2 separate regions of the Homo sapiens genome follow, and region 2 is linked to region 1. The links are contacts of gene promoters, found by promoter capture Hi-C in human tissues and cell types (Jung and others, 2019). All regions are on one chromosome and are shown on one strand. Each heading gives the region's core, a stretch centred on a gene start or on the middle of the fragment in contact. The rest is flanking DNA. Distances are from core to core; before and after follow the strand shown. Region 1 holds the start of ZNF683 (zinc finger protein 683). Region 2 holds the start of EXTL1 (exostosin like glycosyltransferase 1).

Region 1 (7,294 bases), core at 176-2,675:
TGAAGTGGCTCACATCTGTAATCCCAGCACTTCAGGAGACCAAGGCAGACCCATCTCTTGAGCCCAGGAGTTTGAGATCAGCCTGGGCAACAAAGCAAGACCTCATCTCTACAAAAAATACAAAACTTAGCTGGGCATGGTGACTTGCACCTCTGGTCCCAGCTACTCAGGAGGCTGAGGCAGGAGGATCACTTGAGCCCAGGAATATAAGGCTGCAGTGAACTAGGATATTGCCACTGCACTCTAGCCTGGGTGACAGAGAAAGACCCTGTCTCTTTAAAAAAAAAAAAAATAGACATAGCAAAATGGGTGTAAGGCATGACTAGGCCAGGTGTGGTGGCTCACATCTGTAATCCCAGCACTTTGGGAGGCTGAGGTGGGCCAACTGCTTGAGCCCAGGAGTTCAAGACCAGCATGAGCAACATGGTGAAACACCATCTCTACAAAAAATACAAAAATTAGCCAGGCATGGTAGCGCATGCCTGTTGTTCCAGCTACTCAGGAGGCTGAGGTGGGAGGATCACTTGAGCCAGGGAGGTCGAGACTGCAGTGAGCTGAGATCATGCCACTGCACTCCAGCCTGGGTGACAGAGCGAGACCCTGTCTTAAAAAAAGTTAATAAATAAGGAAAAGACATGTCTAGATACAAAAAGGGAGACCTCATAGGCCAGAAAGTGGCTTTTTAGCCTGAGCAATGTCATTATTCTTGTGAGCATGAGAAGAGGCATCACCCCTGCGGCCTTACACAAATTCTGGTGTGCGTGAGTCTGGCCCAGGGTGCAAAAGCCCCAACCAGCCATCAATCTGCACCCCAGCCACGCCACCCTGGTGTCCCAGAATATACAGGGACATCTCAGGCTGTGCACCATGGGCTGGGGCATGTTCCTGGGGTTTCTCTGCCAGCTCAGCCCCTAGGGCTGTGACTCATCCTCCACATAACTGATCCCAACATGTTTGTGAGCATCTCAAGGACAGGGTCCTCTGTCTACTCATTTTGGTTTTCCATGTAGACATCTGTCAGGTTTTTTTGGACGCCCAGCCTCTGAAACTTTTCCCCTACATGAGTCTTGAGGGAGGCAAAAGGTACCTCCCATTATAAAAGCCGAAATGGCCAAATACTTAATTCCAACCTCCCTCACCAGCACTTCATGCAGGCATACATGGACTAGGTCGATCAGATGTCCCCACCCAGAAGGGGTGACCCGCACACCTTTGGCTTCCATCTGCCAGCTCTGCCCTCTCCTGGCATCACACTCTGCTCCCAACTCTCAGAACACCTTGCACAACTTCTCTGTTAGAAAAAAATAAAAACTACTTCCCCTCTATCCGCACTTCCCAACCTACTCTGGTGATCATGGGCTTTCCTTGGCTTGGGTCTCTGGTCTGGGTCAAGGCATCTGCTCAGGTTCCTCAGTTAGAAGACCATGGTCCTCCCTTTGTGCTACCTCCCCAGGGCATGTGGGACAAAGTGACATCACATTTAGGCCTGTGACATCACAGGGCATGGAGGCTGACAAGACAGATGATCTGGGAGACGAGAGCAAGGAAGGGCTTGGCAGGCAGAGGCTGCTCCATGTGGGAACCTGAGGGAGTCTGTCTTAGCCCACCTCCTGGGACATTTCCTTGCCAAGCCGAGTCTTGTGAGCATGAGAAGAGGCATAACCCCTGTGGCCTCACACAAATTCTGGTGTGCGTGAGTCTGGCCCAGGGTACAAAAGCCCCAAGCAGCCATTAATCTCCACTGCAGCCCAGTAGACTAGCAGATCAGAAGCTAGTGCCACTGGCTGAGCGCAGTGGCTCACGCCTGTAATCCCAGGACTTTGGGAGGCCGAGGCGGGCAGATCACTTGAGGTCAGGAGTTCAAGACCAGCCTGGCCAACATGGTGGGACCCCATCTCTACAAAAATACAAAAATTAGCCAAGTGTGGTGGCACGTGCCTGTATTTCCAGCTACTTGGGAGACTGAGGCAGGAGAATTGCTTGAACCCGGGAGGCGGAGGTTGCAGTGAGCTGAGATGGCTCTGCTACACTCCAGGCTGGGCAACAGAGTGAGGCTCCATCTCAAAATAAAATAAAATACAATAAAAAAAGCCACTGGTCCTGAGGTGGCAGGTCTGTGGAAACTCCTCTCTACAACAAAGGCTGTGGTACCACATCCGGCTTCCAGGGCAGTGAAGGAAAGAAGGGGGTTCAGGGGAGGCTGCAGAATCTGTGCAGGGCTGGTCCTGGGGTGTGATATTTGGCCATGGTCCTGTCTACTTCCAGCCTCCCTTGATCCATCCTATTCTCCAAGCCTTGCTCTCCAGCCTTCTCAGACCTCCTGCGAGCTTTTCTAACATCTTTTAAACAAATTCCTTCTGCTTAACTCCTCCTGAAATGGTTTTTGTAGCTTACAACTGATAATTCTGCATTATACATGCCCAGAATAGAAGATAAAGTAACAGGGTTCCAGCTGGAATTGTCCAAGGAACAGAGTAAATAGCCACCTTTACAAACAGCTTTCTTGCTGTGTCTGGCACTGTGCTAGGGGCTTCATAAACTTTATCTCATTTAGTCTTCACAATAAGCCTGTGTGGTGGATTTTATTATTAGCAGCTCATCCAGAGTCACACAACAAGTAGCCAAGAGCTCTTTAGTGGTAAACCTCAGACTCTGCCATCTCTTGGCCATGTCAGCTTCCCCCACTACGACAGCCACCCCCTCATTTCTTTCTTTCTTGCTCTCTCTTCCCACATGCTGTTCCCAGTCCTTCCCCCAACTCCTCAGTGGCCCCCTCAGTATCCTTCAGCGTAATGGAGGGGCTTAGTTCACCAAAACTCTACTCCCTAAAAGGAAGAGCCCTCTCAGACCCCCAGGCCACAAGCCCGCCTCCCCTGCTGTCTTGCTGGGAATCACAGGGAAGTGAGGGGCACCGAGTGAAGTTTCCTCCCCTCCAAGGCACTTCCCCACACACCTTTGGCTTCCATCTGCCAGCTGTGCTCCCTCCTGGCATCACACTCTGCTCCCAGCTCTCAGAACACTTTGCACAACCTCTCTGTTAGAAAAAAATAAAAAAGGAAATGGCCTTGGAGATTTCCAGGTCTCCAATCCTGAAAGCTCCCTGGCTTGGCTAGGAAATGCCCCAGGAGGTGGGCTGAGGACAGACTCCCTCAGGTTCCCACGTGGAGAAGCCTCTGCCTGCCAAGCCCTTCCTTGCTGTCATCTCCCAGATCATCTGTCTTGTGTCATCCATGCCCTGTGATGTCACAGGCCTAAATGTGATGTCACTTTGTCCCACATGCCCTGGGGAGGTAGCACAGAGGGAGGACCATGGTCTTCTAACTGAGGAACCTGAGCAGATGCCTTGACCCAGACCAGAGACCCAAGCCAAGGAAAGCCCATGATCACCAGAGTGGGTTTGGGAAGTGCGGACAGAGGGGGAGTAGGGAGCTGACTCCAGGTGCAAGGGGCACATTCGGGAGGCCTCTGAAGAGGAGGTGCCTCCACATTAGGGGACAAGAGCTGGAGGGGCTGGGTCCTTGGGCTCCCGGTGCTCACTGCACACTTTCTTCTTCCTTTCGTTAGTTGCAAAATAATACATACTAGTGGTAAACATTTCAAACAACAGAAAATGTAAAAACGAAAAATGGAAGCTCCTCCTCCTTCGCAATTTCCCAGTGGTCAATGTGAATTGTTTAGTGTTTACCCTTCCAGACATTTTTCTATGAACCAACAAACAGGTAAATTGATTTTTTTAATTGCTTTTTTTTTTCCTAAGGAATGAAGTGACTTATTGAAAATGAAAGTACACTCTGCAGTGTGGGAGCAGGCCTGAGCATAGGGGCTCAAAGGCCCCATTACAGAGTTTTTGAGAGTTTAAATACCTTCTGCTTGTGGTACGCCCTATGTAAATGAAGAGAATGAAGTAAAGTTACAATGTCATGTACTCAGGGAGAAGCTATTTCCTGTCAGAGCTGAAGTGTGAATTGGCCTTATGTTTCCTGCCTCCAGCCCCTATTTTCCTGCCTCATCTCCCCGCTAAGAGATGTGATTGTGGTCCCCGTAAATCTTCACGGGAGGCAGAGGGACCGATGGTCTTTTTCCTGGGACTGCTTCATGCTGGCATGGGGCGTAGTCCCTACTTATTGGGGATCATGGAACCCTCACCTTGTTCTGTCTAGTGGAGGCAGGGTAGCTTCTTGATGGCCAGGGGTGGTGTCTTCACCTGGACTGGCTGGAGCCTTTGTTGCATGATCATCTGAAGCTTGATGGCCTCCTTTTGCTGGTATGCCAGGTTTCTGGGCTCTCTTTCCCTGAGCGGCCCTTCCTCCGGGCTGGCTGGCCAAAATATGTCACTGGTGGGGGGTGTCCAGGTTCTTGGCATCTTGAACAAAGAATTGGACAAAAAGCAGAAACAAAGCAACGAAGAAATGAAGGGATTTATTGAAAATAAAGTACACTCCACAGTGTTGGAGTGGGCCTGAGCATAGGGGCTGAAAGGCTAAATTGTGTTTTATACAAACATGGGAATATATTGATGCACATTGCTCTTCCGGGTTTTCTTTTCTTTTCTTTTCTTTTTTTTTTTTTTTGAGACAGAATCTGACTCTGCCTCCCAGGTTGGAGTACAGTGGTGTGATCTTGGCTCACTAGCAACCTCTGCCTCCTGGGTTCAAGCAATTCTCCTGTTCAAGCTGGGACTACAGGCATGCGCCACCAAGCCCAGTTAATTTTTTTGTATTTTTAGTAGAGACGGGGTTTCACCACATTGGCCAGGCTGGTCTCAAACTCCTGACCTCAAGTGATCCACCCACCTTGGCCTCCCAAAGTGCTGGATTACACTTTGGGAGCCACCATGCCCAGTCTCTTCTGGGTTTTCTAATAATCCATTGTGGGCATCATTTCATGCCCTGAACATACCTATCTGCCTCCTGCTTTTTCCTGACTATATAATGTTCCATTGCAGGGTTGTGCTTAATATGTAGCCTTCCCCTGTTGGTGGACATACGGGTGGGATCCAATTTTCCCCTTTCTACACAAGGCTGGAAAAGACCTCCAGACAGAGTCAGTATGCGGAATGGTTAAGAATACGAGCTCTGCTGGATTTAATCCCAACTGGGTAAACTTATGGCAAATCACTTAACCTCTCTGTGCATCTTTCCTCATCTGTCAAATGGAGATAATAATAGCACTTGCCTCATAGAATTATTTCCAGGTTTCCTCAAGATAATCCATGTAAAGCCCTTAGGATGGTGCCTGGCCCAAAGCAAGCACTTGACCAATGTGGATGACTATATTGTACATTACCCTTTACCTAGTTAGGCAAGCATCTGCAAGTCAGCTTCTTAAAAGTGTTAAAATTTTGATGGTTATTCCTGACCCATTTTGGAAGATCGAAATTTGGGCAGCACAATTGGAGAGATTAACTACATTTAGTTTTCTTGCTTTATTTATTGACCCTTCCCTGGTTGGGGATCATTGCTCTCATTCAATGCAGTCTTCTCCTACCCCATCCACACACCACAATAATAATAGCTCTTGGCATGGGAGCCCTCATTATATGCCAGGAACCATGCAAAGCCATTCCACACGCTTTGTCTCACTGGATCAGCAGAGTGACTCTGGGAGATGAATGCCATTATTCCCATTTTAGAGGCAAGAAAACTGACACTCAGATAAGGAAAATGACTCACTTAAGATCAGATGACCTGGCTGGGCGTGGCTCATGCCTGTAATCCCAGCACTTTGGGAGGCCGAGGCGGGTGGATCACCTGAGGTCAGGAGTTCAAGACCAGCCTGGCCAACATGGTGAAACTTTGTCTCTACTAAAAATACGAAAATTAGCCGGGCATGGTGGTGGGTGCCTGTAATCCCAGCTACTTGAGAGGTTGAGGCAGGAGAATCGCTTGAACCTAGGAGGCGGAGGTTGCAGTGAGCTGAGATCGTGCCATTGCACTCCAGCCTGGGAGACAAGAGCAAAACTCAGTCTCAAAAAAAAAAAACCAAAAAACACCACATGACCCCAAAGTGGAAAGCATAGAAACAGAGAGTAGAAAGGTCTTTACCAGGGGCAGGGGCCTGGGGTGTAAGGGAAATGGGAGATGAAGGTCAAAGGGTACAAAGTTGCAGTTACTTAGAATGAATAAGTCTAGAGCTGTAACATACAGCATGAGGATTATAGTTAGTAATATTATATAGTAGACATTTGCTAAAAGTAATTTTAGGTACTTTTACCGCACACACACACAAAAGGTAACTGTGAGGTGATGGATGTGTTAAATTGCTTGACTGTAGTAATCACTTTACTGAGCATATGTGTATCAAAACATCATGTTGTAGATCTTAAATATATACAATTTTAAAAGAAACACATGACCCAAGTTGAGGTTGTAAGTCCCAGAGGTGAGGGAGAGCTTAGGGAAGACTTTCCAGGCATTTGAAGAAGTAAAAAGTGCCACAAATATGTTTGGTAGAAGGGGCTCCCAGAAAAATTAAGACAAACAGAGGCCATCTTGAAACGAGCTGCAGAATTAGCATCTGGTACCCTGCAAGAACGTCATTCATTCACATATTTATTTGCCTTTTCTTTCTTCCTTCCTTTCTTTCTTTCTTTCTTTCTTTCTTTCTTTCTTTCTTTCTTTCTTTCTTTCTTTCTTTCTTGTTGTATTTTGGTAGAGACAGGGTCTGGCTGTGCTGACCAGGCTAGTCTCAAACTCCTGCCCTCAAACAGCCTCCCAAAGTAATTCACATATTTATTAATTACCAGCTATGTGTCAGGCATTGGACTATTTTCTGGGAATACAGCCCATAGAAATATGACTCAGACCTTGGAATTACATTCCGGCTATCAAGAAGCTTGCTGGATGTTGTGAAATGGAAAGTAATGTACATCTGAGCTTATTATTAGGAGGGTAGGGGCTGGAGGAGCAAAGTAGAACTGGGGGTGGGGTTGGCTGACTCATGCACCAAGAAAGGGAGACAACGGAACCACAGCCAGAAGCCCCACTTCCTCCCTGAAAACCTTAAAAACTTCTTCAACCCATATCCATTGCCACCTCCAACCTTGAGGCCAGCCAGCTGACTTCCCAGTCAGCTCAGCACATGGGTCCAGGACCTCTGTCACATGGACACTTTTGAGAGGCACCAGGTAAGGACCCCAGGTCAGGAAGGGATCTGGGACGTCACTGGCTTAGAGGTTAAGCAGCTGTAGGGTGTGCCTCCACAGGCAGAGCTGAGGGTGGGGCTGACAGTGCTCTTGCCTGGCTCTGCTCTGTGGTTGACACCTCCCTCCCTCTGCCTGACACCCACATGCTTA
Region 2 (7,174 bases), core at 1,007-3,506, 350 kb before region 1:
CCGTGTTAGCCAGGACGGTCTCAATCTCCTGACCTTGTAATCCGCCTGCCTCAGCCTCCCAAATGCCAGCTTTTTTATGAGGCCTCCCGTATTTCTGTCTAACATTGCAACCCATCCCATCTCCCCAGCAGTTATTGTCAAATAGTATGAGATATTTATTCATTTTGTTTCTTGCCTATTTCCCCTCCCTGGAGGGTAAGTTCCAGGAGGGCAAGATTTTTTCTGCTTTGCTCACTGCCCTTAAGACCTGCCTGGCCCCACAATAGGGGTTCAGTAAATAGCTGTTGAATGAATGAGAGACTTGTGGGGTGACAGACCAGTCAAAAAGCTGTCCCTGCCTCCAGTCCTGCCATTTCCTGTCTGATCCCACACAGACAGCCACAGCGATTTTTCTAAAAACCACATTGCTGTCTTTCAGGTCTTAGGGTAGGTATCACTTCCTCGGAAGCCTTCTCTGGCCCCCTGGGCTAGGCAGCCCCTCTGTGTACTCTCAGGGTCCCCTCCCCTCATTCTGTAATTGCCTGCAATTGCCTAGTTCTATAATTGTCTTCTCCAGGACAGCGAGCTCTGGAGGGTGGGGACGCGTCTGTCTCCCTCCCTGTTGGGAGCTGGAATGGTGCAGCGGATATAGGAGCACACTACCTGGGTCCAAGTCCTGGCTAAGCCGTGAGAATTCAGGCAAATTACTTAAGCTCCCTCGGCCTCAGTTTTCCCAACTGTAAAATGTGGATCATCACAGTTTCTCCCTCCTAGGGTTGGGGAAAGGATGAAACAAGCTGATACAAAAGAGGGATGCTTGGCACGCTGTAAGTGCAATACGAGTGTCAGCTATGATTACTCTTACTCAGGGTTGTGTTCCTGGCCTAGCTCAGAACCTGGCCCATATTCAACACTCATAAGTGTTTGTTAGATGAATGGATGACTGTGTATGGGGATAGAGGGATGAAGGAATGACATGAGGACCTAGACGGGGGCTCTAACCCAGCCTGCGGAGCATTGGAGAAGCTTCTTGTGGGGAGGGAGCTTTCAGCTGACTCCTGCAGGATGAGGAGTTGGCTGGGCACAGTGAAAGGGGGGGCGTGCGAAGCAGCCAGTGGCCTTTGTGGATGCCTCTCAGTGTGGGAGGACTGAGTTATGCAGGAACTGCAGTTCATCACCGAGTGGCTGAGCCATTAGTGCCAAGAGGCAAGTGTCCCCTTTGTGGGCCATTTTTAGGACTCTCACACTGGCTGCTCACTGAGGGCAAAACATCCCACGGTGGCTCCCTGGTCTGATCAGCAGCCCTCCAAGATCAAGGGGAGGCACGCAGGGGAAAGGAGGCCACCACTTGTTGAGGGACCTCAGGGGACAGGCCTGCGTCAACCTGGCAACCCATTCCTGGCTGACATTATGCCCATCCCAGAGATAAGGGGACAGAGGCCCAACACCCCCGAGGCAGTCAGGGGAAGAGGCAGAACCCACTCAAGTCTGTCCACTCCCTGTGCCTTCCCTCATCAGCCCAGAACTCCTCATGGCCAGAGTGTGTCTCCCCCGTCACCCCAGAGATTCCTCAGTGGCTGACATCACCCACTCCTGACTCCCCTCACAGGGCACTGACCGGGGAAATCCCTCCATGGGGCCTGGACTATGGAAGAGTCAAGTGCAGGAAGAACTTTCCATAAGGACTGGAGCAAAAGGCTGGGAATTGGAGGAGATTGGGGGTGGGGCTGCTGAAGGAGGAGAGACCAATCCTGGGGACAGTTGGGGGCACCTTACCCAATTCCTCCACCCCCGCCCCTTAACTCCTCACTTGTCTCACCTGTTGACCTTCTCATGTGCCGATTCAGAGATTCCTCACACTCAGGCTCTGACCTCCACTGACTCTGATGGCCCACAGCAGGTGCAGGGTCTAGTTTTTCTCCAGCCACAGGGCCCACAGCTGGGGTGACCAACGACCAGGAGCTCAGGATTGAAATCCCCACCCTGCCACTTCTTAGCTGGGTCACCTTAGGAAGAGTTCATCCCCTCTCTGAGCTTTCCTCATCTGTAAGAAATGACAGGTAAATCTCTGCCTTGGAGGGTGGCTGGAGGACTGAGAGACAGAGGCTGTGATAACTCATGGCCAGCTGTGAGTTGCAGTACTTGCTGGTTGGATTAGCAATTGAGGAAACTGGTTTGGAAGGGGTTAAATGGAGACCCTGCCTCCCAGCCAGGAGCGAATCAGGGCTGGGAGGGGAGGAGCCAGGCTGCTGCTAAGGAAAGAGATCAGGATGGGCCAGTTGCCGACTGGAGAGGGATGGGAGGAGATACCATAGGGTTTGGGGGGCTTGGCACAGCGGCCCTGGCCTCTGCACTGTGATAGCTCCAAGCCAGATGGTGCAAGGCAGCTGCTGGGCTGCGGGGAAGAGGGGCTGCACTTCCTGAGCTGGTGCAGCGGCAGAGTGGATAAGGATCAGGACCCCGAGCCCTCCTGGCCCTCCAAGGCAGGGGGACACCGGCTGCACCCAGGCTGTGACCTCAGCTGACGCCGATGATCCACATGGGATGCAGGGTCTAATTTTAGCTCCAGCCACAGGGGCCACAGCCCAGAAGCGTCTGCCAGCGGGCACAGGGGCAGCCAGGGCTGCTCAGGCAAGGGGAGGAGTGGGAAGACCAGCCCAGCTCCCTCCAGCCTGTCCCTGGCCAAGCCGCCTCCTGTGGGAGCTCTGACTGGTCCCCATGGCCTGGCAGACAGCCCTCCTCTCAGTTGAGGGCAAGGTCAAGGGGTGCAGCCAGGAGGGCAGGGGGACACGGCCCTGCATTCTGGACAGGGGTTGCGTCAGCCAGAGCAGTGCCCAGGGGCAGGGGTCCCTGCTGGGAGGGAAAAGGCTGGCTTGGTTGTCCAAAGGCCGAGAAGGCAGAGTCCTGAGAGCAGGGGGGCCAGGCCAGCAAGCTGGGTCCCACCTGGCCTCCTCCTGCCTGGCTGGTGACTCACTATCTGACCTTAGACAGGCGGCCTGGTCTCGATGGGCCTCAGTCTTCCCATCTGTACAATGACAGCACAGGACTAGCAGGTCGGTCCCAGCTCTGGTCTCCCGCCCCAGGCCCTGCTCTTCCTGCTTGCTGGCAGAGGCCTCCCAGCTTCCCTAGCCCTGACTGTGGGTGGCCACATGCAGTCGTGGAGGAGAAGAAAGTCCCTGTGGCTGGCACTGTCAGCCTCCTGGCTCCTGCTTGTCCTGCTGGGAGGCTTCTCCCTTCTCCGCCTGGCATTGCCTCCCAGACCTCGGCCCGGGGCTTCCCAAGGCTGGCCCCGCTGGCTGGATGCAGAGCTCCTGCAGAGCTTCTCCCAGCCTGGAGAGCTCCCAGAAGATGCCGTTTCACCTCCTCAAGCCCCTCATGGTGGCAGCTGCAACTGGGAATCTTGCTTTGATACCTCAAAGTGCAGGGGCGATGGCCTTAAGGTATTCGTGTACCCAGCGGTTGGAACCATCTCTGAGACTCATCGCAGGATCCTGGCTTCCATTGAGGGCTCTCGCTTCTACACATTCAGCCCTGCTGGGGCCTGCCTCCTCCTCCTCCTCAGCCTGGACGCCCAGACTGGAGAGTGCAGCTCAATGCCTCTGCAATGGAACAGGGGCAGGAACCATCTGGTCCTCCGTCTCCACCCGGCTCCCTGCCCCAGGACCTTCCAGCTGGGACAGGCTATGGTGGCTGAGGCCAGCCCCACGGTGGACTCCTTCCGGCCCGGCTTTGATGTGGCCCTCCCTTTTCTCCCTGAAGCCCACCCGTTGCGAGGTGGGGCTCCTGGCCAGCTGCGGCAACACAGCCCCCAGCCCGGGGTAGCCCTGCTAGCCCTGGAAGAGGAGAGGGGTGGGTGGCGCACAGCAGACACTGGCTCCTCTGCCTGCCCCTGGGATGGGCGCTGTGAGCAAGACCCTGGACCTGGGCAGTAAGTGAACCTTTTGCCTTGGGGGCTGGATGGGAGGGGGCTGGAATAGACGCAAGCCCAAAAACGAGGGTAGAAGGCAGGACTGAGATGGGAGAACCAGGTAGTCCTGGTAGACTTAGGCCTCAGCTGCAGCAGCAGGAGGGAGCCAGGTTAGATGGCAGAGAGCACTTCCATTAAGATGGGGACTTGAAGCAAGGGTTGTCTAAGGTAGGTTTTGGAATTCTCCCCTGGGGATCTTTCAAAACATAAAACACGACTCATTCCAAACCTCCTACCCTAATATTTTTTTTCCCCACATACAGTTGTATAGTGCTTACTCTGTGCTAAGCACTTATATAAATAATGATTATAATAAAATATGCTAGTTGTTAGCATTTAAGTGTTTGTGTACCAGGCACGAAAGCTCAGACAGGTTAAGTAATTTTTCTCAGGCCACCCAGCCGGAAAGAGCCAGTATTTTGATCCAGAATTGCCTATCTCCAAAGCCTTCAGTATGAGAATTCTGAGTTTTAAGTAAAAGTTTATGATCAACCTCATCAAATGCCTCAGAAGGGCCTCACAGTCACAGCTGGAAGCTGCTCCCGTGTCTAATTTTGGGGATTAACCTCTCAAAGAAACAGCCTTTGGTTATAGCAAATATGACGCAGGTCAGATCTAAAGAATTTCCTGCCAGTGAGAGGCCCTTGACATATATAAGGGACTGGGGGCCTGTGGGATGTGGTGAGCTTGTACAGAAACTCTTTCCGCCTGGGCTAGTTGGGGGTGATGCGCCTCAGGTGATAGTTATCCCCTAAGCACTCTAACCCTCTGTGTCCCCAGCAGGCCAGCAGCCTCTAAAGGCTAGCTGGGCAGGCAAGAATGGGAGTCCCTCTGAGGTTGTCCAGGGCCCCGGTGGCAGAGGGTTCCTTCTGTATCCCACCATCTCCCAGGGCCTACCTGAGTCGGGAACTGTCACTCTGGTATCCTCCTTTTGCTCCTCCCTCAGGTCTCTCTCCCTATTCTCTGCTCCAACAACATCAACTATTCTGAGCTCCACTCCCTCCCAGGAATTCTTGCCTCTGCTTGGGGCTCCCGGGACTTCTCTCGGCCAAAGGGCTCTCGTGGGAATGGGATCCTTCCACTTCCTGAAGGTACATGGAGGCCTCCAGGGAGCCCTCACAGCCAGGAGTAAGAATGGACTTGTCCCGGTCAGCCCCAGGGTCCTTTTGCTGGGACCTATCCCTAGTGGTCTCCAAGGTGGGAGCCTGAAAAGTCAGGGATCTCCCCCAAGCCCCTGCAGCTCAGCGCTCAGGCAGAAGCTCACTTTGAGCGACAAGGCTCTCCCTTTGCCATGCCCTCCCTCACTTTTCTGATGAGGCACTCAGGTACTCTTGCTTGCAGGAAGTTCTTTTTTCAGCTGACTTTAGTTACCGCTAAGCACAGTTCATTATTGATGAACCTGAAAGTGATTTCAGTCTGAACTTCTTTGAGAAACTGGAAGTTAGGGAGCTGCACACAGCAGGTAGGTGCTCATTAAATGTTTACTAATGGATCTGAAATTGGCCAGAGCCGGCCACGGTTTTCTAATTAGCGTGGGTCACCCTCTGAGTAGCATTTTTGATAAGTTTTATTTCCCAGGGGCGAAGCTTGGCAGCCTTGGACTCTGACCTTCAAGTTTTGTCTTTGGCCTCCGCCTCCCTGAAGGTGACAGGACTTGTCATCTCTGGAGTGGTTTGAGCCTCAGTTTCTCCGAAGTGCCGGGCAGCTGCCTGGGCCAGACAGCCTAGGGACAGAGTGAGAGAGATAGCCTGAATAAACAAGTCCTGGCCAGAGAAAGAGGCCATTCACAGTCCCTGCCACCTCCCCACATTCACTCAGCCGGGCGAGAGTGGGGAGAGGAGGAGGCTACATTTGAGGAGTGCCTGGCTTGGGCCAGGTGCTGTGCCAGGCACTTTACTTAAGTCACTGCTGATCCTGTCATGCACCCTTCAAGGGAGGTATTATTATCTCCATTTCAGGGTATGGAAAACTGAGGCCCAGAGAGGTGGAATAGCCCAGGGTGACAAGGTTCCCTCTTCTCCATGAGCCCCTCACTTTTCTAATCAGGCGCTTGGAAGCAGTGGAGTTGGGATTCAACCCTGTACTTCTGGCTCCAAAGCCCATGTTTTTCCACCTTGGTTGAACGGTCTCTTGTTGCTTTGGAATAAATCTCCACCCATTCAAATTGTTATTTATTCATTTTTATGAATAGGTAATTCATTCACATGGTACAGAATTCCAAAGGCACAAAAGGGCATAGAGTGAAAAGCCTCCCTTCTATCCCTGTCTCTCGGCCACCCGGTTTTCCTGCCTGGAGCCAAACACTGCTTCCAGTTTCTTACGTGTCTTTTCTGAGAAACTCTGCGTGTGTACAAGCAATATGTATATTCTCCCCCATTTTTTAACATAAATTTGAGGCATGCTTCAAAGTCCCCCAGGCTGTATCCATTGGGAACAAGGGGCACAGTCAGTACCTAGGGCCCATGATACTTTTATAGGCTCATGAAAATATTTTCATTTTTTGAAAATCAGGGCTGGGCATAGTGGCTTACACCTGTGATCCCAGCACTTTGGGAGGCTGAGGCGGGTGGATCGCCTGAGCTTAGGCAACATGGTGAGACCCTGTCTCTACAAGAATTACAAACATTAGCTGGGTGTGGTGGTGCAAGCCTGTAGTCCCAGCTACTTGGGAGGCTGAAGTGAGAGGATCGCTTGAGCCCAGGGTGTCAAGGCTAGAGTGAGCTGGGATCATGCCACTGCACTCCAGCCTGGGCAGCAGAGTGAGAGAGACTCTGTTTCAAAAAAAAAAAAAAAAGGCAGAATTAAAAATGAACTTTCAGGTAGAAGAAAAAAATTTTTTTTTTTTTTGAGACAAAGTCTTTCTCTGTCACCCAGGCTGGAGTGCAATGGCACAATCTTGGCTCACTGCGACCTCCACTTCCTGGGTTCAAGCGATTCCCCTGCCTCAGCCTCCCAAGTAGCTGGGATTACAGGCACGCACCACTACACCCAGCTAATTTTTGTATTTTTAGTAGAGATGGGGTTTCACCATGTTGGTCAGGCTGGTCTCAAACTCCTGACTTCAAATGATCTGCCTGCCTCGGCCTCCCAAAGTGCTGAGATTACAGGCATGAGCCACGGCGCCCAGCAGAAAATGTTTTAATATATAATATTGCTTGTTTTTATACCAACACAGTTATCAACTATATTCTTTTTTTATGGCAGGAGAGACTGTGAAGGCCAAAGTGC

What was found. Contacts are between HindIII fragments. The study calls those that stand out against the background at their distance.
Region 2: the fragment with the promoter of EXTL1 here is called in contact with the fragment with the promoter of ZNF683 in region 1 in 1 of the 25 tissues and cell types used here (mesenchymal stem cells).

The regions. Positions count from the first base shown.
Region 1 is chr1:26,371,325-26,378,618 of GRCh38, forward strand. It overlaps ZNF683 (zinc finger protein 683), which reads right to left and starts at 1,426. Exons shown (of 6, transcript NM_001114759.3): 1 at 1,345-1,426. RefSeq lists a cis regulatory region at 6,714-7,294 and an enhancer at 6,930-7,139. The HindIII fragment of the contact is 13,714 bases long and covers 1-5,538 here.
Region 2 is chr1:26,019,519-26,026,692 of GRCh38, forward strand. EXTL1 (exostosin like glycosyltransferase 1) reads left to right here and starts at 2,257. Exons shown (of 11, transcript NM_004455.3): 1 at 2,257-3,907. The coding sequence starts at 3,129. The HindIII fragment of the contact is 12,554 bases long and covers 1-3,268 here.